4 separate regions of the Homo sapiens genome follow, and regions 2, 3 and 4 are each linked to region 1. Evidence: promoter capture Hi-C in 16 types of primary human blood cells and fetal thymus (Javierre and others, 2016). All regions are on one chromosome and are shown on one strand. The core of a region is centred on a gene start or on the middle of the fragment in contact, and the rest is flanking DNA. Distances in the headings are between cores, read along the strand shown.

What was found. The method cuts DNA at HindIII sites, captures the fragments that hold promoters and counts their contacts. A CHiCAGO score of 5 or more calls a contact.
Region 2: a contact is called between the fragment with the promoter of C16orf92 here and a fragment that was not itself captured in region 1, in 2 of 17 cell types (naive CD4 T cells and erythroblasts). The highest score is 5.3, in naive CD4 T cells.
Region 3: a contact is called between the fragment with the promoter of C16orf54 here and a fragment that was not itself captured in region 1, in 2 of 17 cell types (endothelial precursors and fetal thymus). The highest score is 7.2, in endothelial precursors.
Region 4: the fragment with the promoter of SPN here is called in contact with a fragment that was not itself captured in region 1 in 1 of 17 cell types (fetal thymus); the score reaches 5.0 in fetal thymus.

What each region holds. Positions count from the first base shown.
Region 1 is chr16:29,125,557-29,128,577 of GRCh38, forward strand. LOC124903671 reads right to left here. Exons shown (of 3, transcript XM_047435010.1): 3 at 1,514-3,021. Among named protein-coding and RNA genes, the nearest start is that of LAT, 140 kb to the left of the region's middle. The HindIII fragment of the contact is 591 bases long and covers 956-1,546 here.
Region 2 is chr16:30,021,700-30,024,720 of GRCh38, forward strand. It overlaps C16orf92 (chromosome 16 open reading frame 92), which reads left to right and starts at 1,499. Exons shown (of 4, transcript NM_001109659.2): 1 at 1,499-1,705; 2 at 2,028-2,186; 3 at 2,300-2,387; 4 at 2,507-3,005. The coding sequence starts at 1,642. The coding sequence ends at 2,528. It overlaps TLCD3B (TLC domain containing 3B), which reads right to left. Exons shown (of 5, transcript NM_031478.6): 5 at 2,728-3,021. It also overlaps a transcript of DOC2A not described here. The HindIII fragment of the contact is 16,537 bases long and covers 1-3,021 here.
Region 3 is chr16:29,744,364-29,747,384 of GRCh38, forward strand. C16orf54 (chromosome 16 open reading frame 54) reads right to left here and starts at 1,627. Exons shown (of 2, transcript NM_175900.4): 1 at 1,548-1,627; 2 at 1-588. The coding sequence starts at 588. LOC124903673 (a long non-coding RNA gene) reads left to right here and starts at 884. Exons shown (of 2, transcript XR_007065046.1): 1 at 884-1,022. RefSeq lists enhancers at 1,917-1,966, 2,494-2,563. The HindIII fragment of the contact is 10,190 bases long and covers 1-3,021 here.
Region 4 is chr16:29,661,842-29,664,862 of GRCh38, forward strand. SPN (sialophorin) reads left to right here and starts at 1,406. Exons shown (of 2, transcript NM_003123.6): 1 at 1,406-1,475; 2 at 1,854-3,021. The coding sequence starts at 1,888. RefSeq lists enhancers at 121-170, 811-890 and silencers at 1,071-1,130, 2,391-2,510. The HindIII fragment of the contact is 6,496 bases long and covers 363-3,021 here.

The DNA.
Region 1 (3,021 bases), core at 1-2,500:
GTGCCCCTTGACATTTCCTCCATTCCCTCTTCATTGTAGGTGTTTCATCATTAGTGTTTTTTTTTTTTTCTTGTTTTCTTTTGAGACAGAGTTTTGCTCTTGTTGCCCAGGCTGGAGTGCAATGGGGCGATCTCTTACTGTAACCTCCACCTCCTGGGTTCAAGCAATTCTTCTGCCTCAACCTCCCAAGTAGCTGGGATTACAGGCCGTGCCACCACACCCGGCTAATTTTTTGTATTTATATTAGAGACGGGGTTTCACCATGTTGACCAGGCTGGTCTCGAACTCCTGACCTCAGGTGATCCGCCTGCCTTGGCCTCCCAAAGTGCTGGGATTACAGATGTGAACCACCATGCCCAGCCTGAGCACTTTTTACTTGCACAGCACTACCAAATGCTTCTCCGGGCTCATTGTGAGTACTTGTCCCAGCCTAGAATCAGCCGTTTCTCCGTGAATTGAAAAATGACGTTAGAGACCAGGATGCGGTGTTTGGAGGGCCCTGGCGTTAGAGACCAGGATGCGGTGTTTGGAGGGCCCTGGCATTAGAGACCAGGATGTGGTGTTAGAGACCAGGATGCGGTGTTTGGAGGGCCCTGGTGTTAAGAGACCAGGATGCGGTGCACGGCGGTGCGCTGCGTCCTCTGAGCATGCGAAGGGCCCTGGGCGGCTTTTCACCCAAACATGTTGCCTAGGAGCCCTGCATCCTGTGCTGTTGCAGAGTGCTGACTTCTGTGGAGTCAGTCCTGACACTGCTTCCCTCTCTCACTGGTAGTCATTTCTGTAGCTTCTAGGAAAGAGGAAGAAAACACACCCGTCTTTGACCTGCTCGCCCTCTGATTTGGGACTGTTGGGTGGAAGTCACAGATCTCTGTCGGAGCACAAGCGTGGCTCCTTGGGGAGAGCAGCGTAAGGAGTTAGATCTGGAGCCTCTCAAAGCCAATTGCCAGAAGCTAGAAGCTTCTTTCTTTCTTTAGCAACGAGGTTTTAAAGTTTGTTACATTAGGTTAGTCCTGTTTCTCTGGTGCAGTGGTTATTTGGAGAGTTGGTTTTATTTTCAGTTTTGCTTATTTCATTAGATTATTAGGAAGAAAATTTTAATGCCAATTTATTTTTACCCCTGGGTATTTTTTGTTAGATCATGTTTTTATAACTTTTTAATCTTTAGCGTGGTACAGTGGCTTAGGCCTGTAATCCCAGCAACTCGGGAGACTGAGGTGACCCAAGTCACGTGTGAGGAATGTCACGCCCAGCAACCTCAGGGAACACGCTTTTCTCCAAATTGCCACCCACTAGACTGTGAAGCCACCTCAATGCCACAGGATGGGGGCTTGCAGAATGTGTTTTGTGACCAAATGGAATTAAGGCAAAAATTAATGAGAAGAAAAGTAGAAAAATCCCTGAATGATTGGGAGTTAAATAACAAACATTTAAATAACCCCTAGGTCAGATAAGAAAGAAAACTGGACATGTGAAGGTATTTGTAACTGAATGACACATGCAAATTGATCAAAACTCGGGGAATACATCGACAGTTGTATTAGAGAAAAGCTTAAAGACAAGGAAAAATTAAGGAAATGAGGCACAAAACGTAGAGTAGATACAACCAACAAAACCAAATTGGATTCTTTGAGAAGATTAGTACACTTGAGAAAGCCCTGGTACACTAGTCAGAGAAAAGAGAGCAGGGACAAATTACAATGTCAGAATCTACGAACCCTTCAGACATAAAAACTTGAGGCTGTCTCAAAAGTCAGTGGGAAACGTTAAATGCAATTGACAAATTACTAGGAAAAAACTGCTATCAGAAGAAATAGAACATGTTACTAGCTCCTGTCTTTCAGAAATCTTACCTATATCTTGTCACAAAGAAAAACTGCCACCACACCCGGCTAATTTTTTTGTATTTTTAGTAGAGATGGCCTCAGCCTTCTGTACAGTCTCTGGGGCTGTACAGAAACCTGTTTCCTGCAGGGACATACATTTAACGTCTGTGAAAGCCTCAGACCCCCTGAGCACACCTGCCTAGCCGTGTTGTGGACGAACAAGGGCTGATGAAATGCCTGTGGAGGCTGATTTCACCGGAGTCAGGGGAAGTCGGTCTAAGCAAAGAGCAGGGGCAGGGATGAAAATAACAGAACAGTGATCCAGGTAGCAACCGTGTGCCGGGGAGGCTGGGCCAAGCATTTATAGAAACTGCCCAAAGAACAGCGCAGGGAGGGCATTTCGGCCCATTTTACAGACCAGGAAAACGGGCGGAGAGGCTGAGTGACTGCCCGAGGCGACACACAGCTCTCCCGCCCTGTTCGCTTATGCACAGTCTTGGCCATGCAGTGAAGGGAGTTCCCAGCAGTGTCCCCCGCCCACTCCCATCCTATTGCCCAGCTGAGCCCCTCCCTTGGCTCTCCCACCCATGGGCCCGATGGCCGCAGCTGGGATCCACCGGACACTGCAGTCCCCCAGGCTTCGGGTCTTTGCCTCCTTAGTCACCTGTGAAGCACCTCCTATGCGCCAGCTCTGCCCGTCTAGGGAGAAGCAGCACAGCCCGGCCACCCGAGGCCTCCTGTGCGCTTCCCCATCTGAGGTCCGTGATCAGAACTGCGGGCTTCTCCGCAGAGGTCGGGGCAGTGACAGGACAGCCGCGGGCTTCTCCTCAGAGGTCGGGGCAGTGACAGGACAGCCTCAGCCTCTTTAGACGCTGCCTTCAGGGAGCAGTGAAAGAGGGAGGGAGAGACAGAGAGCACCCGGGCGGGTCTCCCAGCCACGCCAGGCAGGTGGGCAGGATTTATGTGCCAGGTACTGTGCTGGCTATCACCGGGGCCTGGTGGTCTCTTGGAGTCACAAGCAGCCGCCTGAGATGAGGTTTATGATTTTGAGTTAGAATAGGACTGAAGCTTATTCCCAGGGGGCTGGCCGGGCCGGCTCTCCCTGCCCGCCGGCATCTCCACTGCCTCTGCTGTCCTGAAGCTCTTATGAGGGTTCACATTACTAGGACGCCAATGTGGGTTCTCCTCTGGGCTCTGG
Region 2 (3,021 bases), core at 249-2,748, 900 kb after region 1:
ACTCAGGCGCGGCCGCTGCTGCCACCTAGTGGGAGACGCCTGCTACTCCTCTCGGTTCCTAACCCCAGGGTCGTTCCCGGCTGAGCACTAAGGAGGGGGCGGGGGAGGACGGAGAGAGCCCTGTGCCCCTGGATCTGCGGATAGGATGCAAGGGGGAGCCTCAGAGAGGAACCCCCCCCCCAGGAAGTGTGCATTGCCCACACTACTTTTCCCCTCTGTGCCGTGATTTCCTCCCGTGTATAAGGGAGGCAAGAGTACCTGCCTCTGGGCTGGGCTTGGTGGCTCACGCCTGTAATCCCAACACTTTGGGAGGCCGAGGCAGGCGGATCATCCGAGTTCAGGAGTTCAAGACCAGCCTGGCCAACATGGTGAAACCCCATCTCTACTAAAAGTACAAAAATCAGCCGAACAGTGATGGTGCGCGCCTGTAATCCCACTCCAGGAGGCTGAGGCAGGAGAATCGCTTGAACCCAGGAGGTGGAGGTTGCAGTGAGCTGAGATTGTGCGTCTGCACTCCAGCCTGGCGGACAGAGTGAAACTCCATCTCAAAAAAAAAAAAAAAAAAAAAAAAAAAAAAGAGTACCTGCCTCTGAGGGTCAGTGCAAGAGCAAATGAACAAATTTGTGCAAGGTACTTGGCCATAAATGGGGTCCAGCCAGCATAGTAATAGGTGTTCAATAAATGCTACCTGCTGGGCATGGTGGCTCATGCCTGTAATCCCAGCACTTTGGGAGGCCGAAGCTGGAGGATCACCTGAGGCCAGAAGTTCGAAACCAGCCTGGGCAACATAGCAAGCCCTCATTTCTACAAAAAATGCAAAAATTAGCCGGGCATGGTGGCACATGCCTGTGGTCCCAGCTACTCAGGAGGCTGATGTGGGAGGATCACTTGAGGCCAGGAGTTCAAGGCTGCAGTAATCATACCACTGTACTCCAGCCTGGGTGACAGAGTGAGACCCTGTCTCTGAAAATACATAAAATAGGCCGGGCGCTTTGGGAGGCCGAGGCGAACAGATCACCTGAGGTGAGGAGTTCAAGACCAGCCTGACCAACATAGTGAAACCCTGTCTCTACTAAAAATACAAAAATTAGCCGGGTGTGGTGGCAGACAGATAAAAGGAAGGGATTTATCCAAAGCTGTAATCCCAGATACTCAGGAGGCTGAGGCAAGAGAATCACTTGAACCCAGGAGGCAGAGGCTGTAGAGAGCCAAGATGGCGCCACTGCATTCCCACCTGGGTGACAGACAGAGACCCTGTCTCCAAAAAAATGAAAATAAATAAAACAAATGTTACCTGTGGTTGATCCAAGGGGTAACCGGAGGTGTGTGGCCCTGTGCCACCACCCCAAATTGTGCCTGTTGTCCAAACACAGCTTCCTTTAGTTCGGGCTTTCAGCAAGATGGCCGTGCCGCATCCCTCCTCTTTGTAAATGCTGGGGCTGCCACCATTATGGTTTTATCATCAGCGACATTCCAGGGGGTGAAGACTGGTCCCAACCTCTCTTCTCCTCTCCTCTTCTGATGAGAGTGAGGGATGGGGGAGGGGTCCCAGCTCCTAGCACTTTCTCCCCTCACCCCAAAGTGCCATCAGAACAGCTCTGGGCTGTGACATCACAGAGCCCCCACCTCATGATAGGAGTCATGAGGCTGTGGCCATGGGTGCTGGTGTGGGTGTGGCTGGCTGCACTAGGGGCCATAGAAACTGGTAAGAAGCTGTCTTGGGAGCAGCAGGAAGGCAGGCAGCTCTGGGAGCATAAAGTGTGATGCCCACTTAGGGACTCGGAAGCCAACCCTGCACCCTCTCATTTTCTCTCCACTCTTCTCTCCCATCCTGCTGGTCCCACCTACCCCCCAACAACCGCGAGCCTTGTCGTGGTGCACCCAGCTGACCCTGAGGGAAATCAAGACCCTCCACAGCCTCTGCAATAAGGCTGGGTGGTCTCACAGGGTCCCAAGTCAGCTTCCGCCTCGAGAGATAAAGGCAGGGGTCAGCTTGGCTGTTGTCACAGAGTTTGCTTGGGTCCTAGCACCCAGACCCAAGCGTGCCACGGCGTCAGCCCTGGGGACAGAGTCTCCGCGCTTCTTAGACAGACCTGACTTCTTCGATTATCCGGACTCAGACCAAGCCAGGCTGCTGGCTGTGGCCCAGTTTATTGGAGAGAAACCCATCGTGTTCATTAACTCAGGTATGAACCAGCTTGAGAAGGGACCTCCCTCCCCGCCAGGGTCTGGAGGAGAGCAGCCCCAGACCCTTCATTGGGCCATCAGAGGGGAGTTAAGGGTCCTGTTTGTCTAGCAGGTTCCAGCCCCGGGCTCTTCCATCACATCCTGGTGGGCTTGCTGGTGGTGGCGTTCTTCTTTCTCCTTTTCCAGTTCTGCACCCACATGTAAGGCCTGCCCCCTTTCTCCAACCCCACCCACCACCACCTTCCTTGGGAGCGGCTGAAGACCCCAGTTCTAGCGGGGCAGGCTGTGACCTCTCCCCTCTGATCTCCATGCCCCACAGAAACTTCCAGAAAGGGGCCTAAAGAGCCGGACAAGGGCTCTGGACTCAACCTGAGCACCCACACCCACCTCCTCTCCTGTTGATGAGCAAAAGTTCCCTGCTTTCCTCCTCCCTGACTGCCCAGCGAGCAGCTGGGGATCCTGTCCCCTCTGTTTCCCATGGCCCAAGCCCCCCACCTCCTCCCTTCCCAGCCCCAAAGAACTTGGTGGCAAGGGCCTTGGTGGCGTTCACGCAGATCGTCTTTTATTAGCGGTCTGTAAAGCACCTCCCAGGGTCCCCCGACCCCAGATTGGAGGAAGCCTTGAGAGGTCAGTAGCACCAGGGACATGGCAGGGCCCGAGGGCGCGATGTGCAGCCGATGGTGAGGGACTGGGCGCCCTCGCCTGCCCCCGGGGTTGTCAGCACTGGGAAGGCTTGGGGGTAGCAGCCACCTCCTTCCCCCAACCCAACAGACTAGTTCAAATTTGGGTAAATAAATAAAATAAATAAGATTCCTCAAGCTGGCCTACCCTGGA
Region 3 (3,021 bases), core at 377-2,876, 620 kb after region 1:
ATCCGGGCTCCCTGGCCGCTGCCTCCTGGCCTGGGGGCTCCCAAACTGGACGCTGGCCTCTGGCCTCTGCTCGGGTTCAGCCCAGCTCACCAGGCCTGTGGCGGGGGGCCTCCCCTCCCAGGGCTGGGGCCCCCAGAAGGTGCTCCGGGCTGGGACCTCCAGTACGGTCTGGGGGCCCAAGTTGCTGGGAGCAGAATTTGGGGCTGAGGGGGCAGGTGGGGCTGTTGCTCGGGCCTCCAAAGTGCCCACCTGGGTGGGAGGCTCAGGGGCCCGATCTGTCAGCAGGGGGACCGCAGAGCCATACCAGTCCTCAGAGCGCTCTCGGGCGGTGCCCATGGGCTCAATCCACAGCTCTCCTCCTGGGCGCCACACCAGGGTGGGTGCACGGTGGCTGGGGTCTGGGCGGAGAGCACGGCGGAACAGGCGTTCAGCCAACACAGCGGTGGTGAGGATGAAGAGCGCAGCCAGGGTGGCCAGGACCAGCATGATGGGGATGCAGGGCCCACAGGGCAGTGAGGGCCATGGGGCTGCTTCCCATGCGGGGGGCCCCTCCACGCGCCCAGAGGGCGGCTCTGGAGTCAACGGCATCTGAGAGACACAGGGGTGAGAAGAGGAAGTAAATGAGGCAGAGGGGGCACAACCAAGATGAGAGAGAGGCAGCAGGTGTCCAGGAAAGCCTGGGAGAAGGGCTGGGCATGGGGGCTCATGCCTGGAATCCCAGCACTTTGAGAGGTCGAGGCGGGAGGATCACTTGAGCCCAGGAGTTCAAGACCAGCCTGGACACACAGTGAAACCTCATCTCTAAAAATAATTTAAAAACTAGCTGGGTGTGGTGGCTCACACCTGTAGTCCCAGCTACACAGGAAGCTGAGGTGGGAGGATTACTTGAGCCCAGGAGTTTGAAGCTGCAGTGACCCCAGATTGCACCACTGTCCTCCAGCCTGGGCAATAGAGCAAGACCCTTTCTCAAAAATGAAAAAGAACATTCTGGAGAGACAGAGAAGCAAGAGGGACCAGAAAGGGTAAGCGTGAGCCAGGTGGGGTGGGAGGACAGGCAGCCTACCTCGGGGCACAGCCAGGCCCTCCTGCCTGGCTCTCCAGGCCTTTCCAGAATCCCCATTTCCCTCCCAGACCCCAGGGTGCCTCAGACAAGAAAGGTCTCAAGGGCTTCTTTCCTCCCCACTCGGCCCCCTCAAGTCTTGCTCAGACCTAGAGAGGAAGTGGTGGGTGAAGAAATGAGAACCTCCCCTCCCACTGGCTCCCCTGCGTGTGTCTCCCCCACCGCCTGCCGCCAGCACCTCCGCTGGCCCCTTGAGGCTCCTTCGCCCCTCACCATTCTCCTCGGACTTGATCTTGCTCTCATAGGCTCCACGGAATCTGCTGCCGGGCCGGGCCGGGCCAGGCCTCCGGAGGCGCCTCTGCACCCCTCCTGGGCTCCCCAGCTTTGCCCAGGCTCTGGCCTGTCTCTATCTCTCGTTTGTCTCTGCACACCTCTCTGTCCCCCACATCCTCCATCTGCAGGGGGCCTCCTGCACCCCTCAACTCACCTTGGGTCAGTCCCTGGGCTCCTCTCCCTCCTAGAGCCACTCTTCCTGGTGCTGGACTAAGAGGTGCAGGCTTGGAGGGTGCAGGGCGGTCCGCCTCTCAGACGTAGAGGCCCGGCCTCGGATGAAGGCGGAAGGGAGGGCACCGCCTGTTGCTGGGCAACTGTGCCCCAACTCGTCTGCCCCTGGGGAGTGTTTGTTTCCAAAGCAACCCAAGGGGATGTGGTCACTGCGGTGAGGAGGCTTTTCCTGGGGTAAGGTGGGGCTGGAATGGGCAATGGTTCTGTTGAACTTAGTGTCACCCCATAGCCAGGCCCTGAGCCCCAGAACATTCACCGAAAAGCTGAGAAAGAGGACGCCGGGGCCAGGCACAGTGGCTCACCCCTGTAATCCCAGCATTTTGGGAGGTCAAGGTGGGCAAGTCACCTGAGGTCAGGAGTTCGAGACCAGCCTGCCAACATGGCGAAACCCCATCTCTACTGAAAAATACAAAAATTAGCTGGGCATGGTGACGGGCACTTGTAATCTCAGCTGCTCAGGCGGCTGAGGCAGGGAGAATCGCTTGAACCCGGGACTCGGAGGTTGCAGTGAGCTGAGATCGTGCCACCACACTCCAGCCTGGGCAACAGAGTGAGACTCCGTCTTAAAAAAAAAGAAAAGAAAAGAAAAGAAAAAGAAATAGGACACTGGGACTTTAGCCCGTACATTCCCAGAGAACCATGGTGCCTCCCCCGTTCCTCCTGGGAGGATGCCCCACCCCATCCTGCCTTGTCTTATCCACGGTGCCTCCCCAGATCTGCTCCTGCCATGCAGCCCCCACAGGCACCCCCTGCTTGGCCAGCTTGCTTCACACCTTTTTTTTTTTTTTCTGGTAGAGATGGGCTCTTGCTATGTTGCCCAGGCTGGTCTCAAGCTCCTGGCCTCAAGAGATCCTCCTGCCTCAGCCTCCCAAAGTGCTGGGATTACAGGTGTGAGCTACCACACTGGCCCCTGCCTCATACTTTTAATTAACATAAGTCTCTCTCTCTTCAGACCATTTAGCCCCCATTTTGGTTGGAAAATATCAGTGAGGTGAGGCTTGGGTAACAAAAATGTCAAGCCTCTGAGAGGAGTCCAGGGTATAAAAACAGGCGTGGGCCTGTTTCCAAAACCCTGACCATCCTCATGTCTGTCCCTCTTTCCTGCTGCTGAGGGTGGGAGGAGCCTGGAGCAGAGTGTGACAAGATGTCATCAGGCTCTGGAGTCCAGGTGACTTTCTGAGATTCTCTAGTTTGACTCATCCACAGATGACAAAAGTAAGGCTTAAAGAAAAGAGATTTCATGACCAAAGTCGCATGACCAATGTATGTGTGGGTGAGCATGTAGTGGCCAGGGTGGTGGAAGAATAGATAGAAATCCCTGGGCTGGGCGAGGTGGCTCATGCCTGTAATCCCAGCACTTTGGGAGACCGAGGCGGGTGGATCACCTGAGGTCAGGA
Region 4 (3,021 bases), core at 156-2,655, 540 kb after region 1:
CATCACGCTGCTGTTGCTTGGTGTGAGCAATTAATTCCTGTGGCTCTCACCCAGGAGTCTCATGTCTTTGGGTCAGACAAACTCATCAGCTTGTAGAAATGGCACAGTCCCACGGGCCTGTTAGAATCTTCTATTGTGCACATGTTGCTCTTAAAATATACAAATCAGTTTTGATTTTAAAAAATTATTTATTTTTTTAGTGATAGGAGTTTTGCTACGTTGCCCAGGCTGGTTTCAAACTCTTGGGCTCAGGAGGTCCTCCCACTTTGGCCTGGACTGCCAGCATAATGTATCACCACACCCGGGACTGATTTTCGTTTTTCAAGAACAAAAACCAAAAACATACACAAACCGAGAGTCAAAGCTTGCTAATTAGAGGAAAGTCAGGAAATGGGAACCATTCAAAGAAGAAAATACCCCCACCTCCTACTCTCACCTATCCAAAGACAATTAGGTGAATCCCTTAGTAGATATCTTTCCAGACGGTTTTCCATATAGATTCCCATATCTGGCCAGGCGCGGTGGCTCACACCTGTAATCCTAGCGCTTGGGGAGGCTGAGGCGGATGGACCACCTGAGGTCAGGAGTTCGAGACCAGCCTGACCAACATGGAGAAACCTCGTCTCTACGAAAAATACAAAATTAGCCGGGCACAGTGGTGCAAGCCTGTAATCCCAGCTACTCAGGAGGCCGAGGCAGGAGAATTGCTTGAACCTAGGAGGCAGACATTGTGCTGAGCCGAGCCAAGATCATGCCATTGCACTAAACTCCGCCTTAAAAAAAAAAAAAAAGATTCCCACATCTTTACTAGTTTGCAGAAATAAGATCCTAGCATATGCAGTGTGTAGGAACCACCTTGGTTTAGCCACGTCTCTGTGACTGGGGGCCACTGTGGTGACCCCCAGCTCCCCGGACAGAGTCAAGAGCTCACCAGCCTGCAAAGGTTTTCACGGCCCCCAGCCAGACTCGGGGGCTTCCTCTTGCCCTGCTACTTCCTGGGAGCTCTGAGGGCAGGAAATGGCGCCACTCAGCTCCTGGCCTAACAGCTTGGGGACCACAAATGCAAAGGAAACCACCCTCCCCTCCCACCTCCTCCTCTGCACCCTTGAGTTCTCAGGCTCACATTCCCACCACCCACCTCTGAGCCCAGCCCTCCCTAGCATCACCACTTCCATCCCATTCCTCAGCCAAGAGCCAGGAATCCTGATTCCAGATCCCACGCTTCCCTGCCTCCCTCAGGTGAGCCCCAGACCCCCAGGCACCCCGCTGGCCCCTGAAGGAGCAGGTGATGGTGCTGTCTTCGCCCAGCAGCTGTGGGAGCAGGCGGGTGGGGCAGGATGGAGGGGTGGGTGGGGTGGGTGGAGCCAGGGCCCACTTCCTTTCCCCTTGGGGCCCTGTCCTTCCCAGTCTTGCCCCAGCCTCGGGAGGTGGTGGAGTGACCTGGCCCCAGTGCTGCGTCCTTATCAGCCGAGCCGGTAAGAGGGTGAGACTTGGTGGGGTAGGGGCCTCAGTGGGCCTGGGAATGTGCCTGTGGCTTGAAAAGACTCTGACAGGTTATGATGGGAAGAGATTGGGAGCCATTGGGCTGCACAGGGTCAGGGAAGGCCAGGAGGGGCTGGTCACTGCTGGAATCTAAGCTGCTGAGGCTGGAGGGAGCCTCAGGATGGGGCTGATGGGGGAGCTGCCAGCATCTGTTCCTCTGTCATTTCTGATAACAGTAAAAGCCAGCATGGAAAAAACCGTTAAACCGCAGGTTGGGCCTGGCCGTTGGCAGGGAAGTGGGCAGAGGGGAGGCCCGGCCAGGTCCTCCGGCAACTCCCGCGTGTTCTGCTTCTCCGGCTGCCCACCTGCAGGTCCCAGCTCTTGCTCCTGCCTGTTTGCCTGGAAATGGCCACGCTTCTCCTTCTCCTTGGGGTGCTGGTGGTAAGCCCAGACGCTCTGGGGAGCACAACAGCAGTGCAGACACCCACCTCCGGAGAGCCTTTGGTCTCTACTAGCGAGCCCCTGAGCTCAAAGATGTACACCACTTCAATAACAAGTGACCCTAAGGCCGACAGCACTGGGGACCAGACCTCAGCCCTACCTCCCTCAACTTCCATCAATGAGGGATCCCCTCTTTGGACTTCCATTGGTGCCAGCACTGGTTCCCCTTTACCTGAGCCAACAACCTACCAGGAAGTTTCCATCAAGATGTCATCAGTGCCCCAGGAAACCCCTCATGCAACCAGTCATCCTGCTGTTCCCATAACAGCAAACTCTCTAGGATCCCACACCGTGACAGGTGGAACCATAACAACGAACTCTCCAGAAACCTCCAGTAGGACCAGTGGAGCCCCTGTTACCACGGCAGCTAGCTCTCTGGAGACCTCCAGAGGCACCTCTGGACCCCCTCTTACCATGGCAACTGTCTCTCTGGAGACTTCCAAAGGCACCTCTGGACCCCCTGTTACCATGGCAACTGACTCTCTGGAGACCTCCACTGGGACCACTGGACCCCCTGTTACCATGACAACTGGCTCTCTGGAGCCCTCCAGCGGGGCCAGTGGACCCCAGGTCTCTAGCGTAAAACTATCTACAATGATGTCTCCAACGACCTCCACCAACGCAAGCACTGTGCCCTTCCGGAACCCAGATGAGAACTCACGAGGCATGCTGCCAGTGGCTGTGCTTGTGGCCCTGCTGGCGGTCATAGTCCTCGTGGCTCTGCTCCTGCTGTGGCGCCGGCGGCAGAAGCGGCGGACTGGGGCCCTCGTGCTGAGCAGAGGCGGCAAGCGTAACGGGGTGGTGGACGCCTGGGCTGGGCCAGCCCAGGTCCCTGAGGAGGGGGCCGTGACAGTGACCGTGGGAGGGTCCGGGGGCGACAAGGGCTCTGGGTTCCCCGATGGGGAGGGGTCTAGCCGTCGGCCCACGCTCACCACTTTCTTTGGCAGACGGAAGTCTCGCCAGGGCTCCCTGGCGATGGAGGAGCTGAAGTCTGGGTCAGGCCCCAGCCTCAAAGGGGAGGAGGAGCCACTGGTGGCC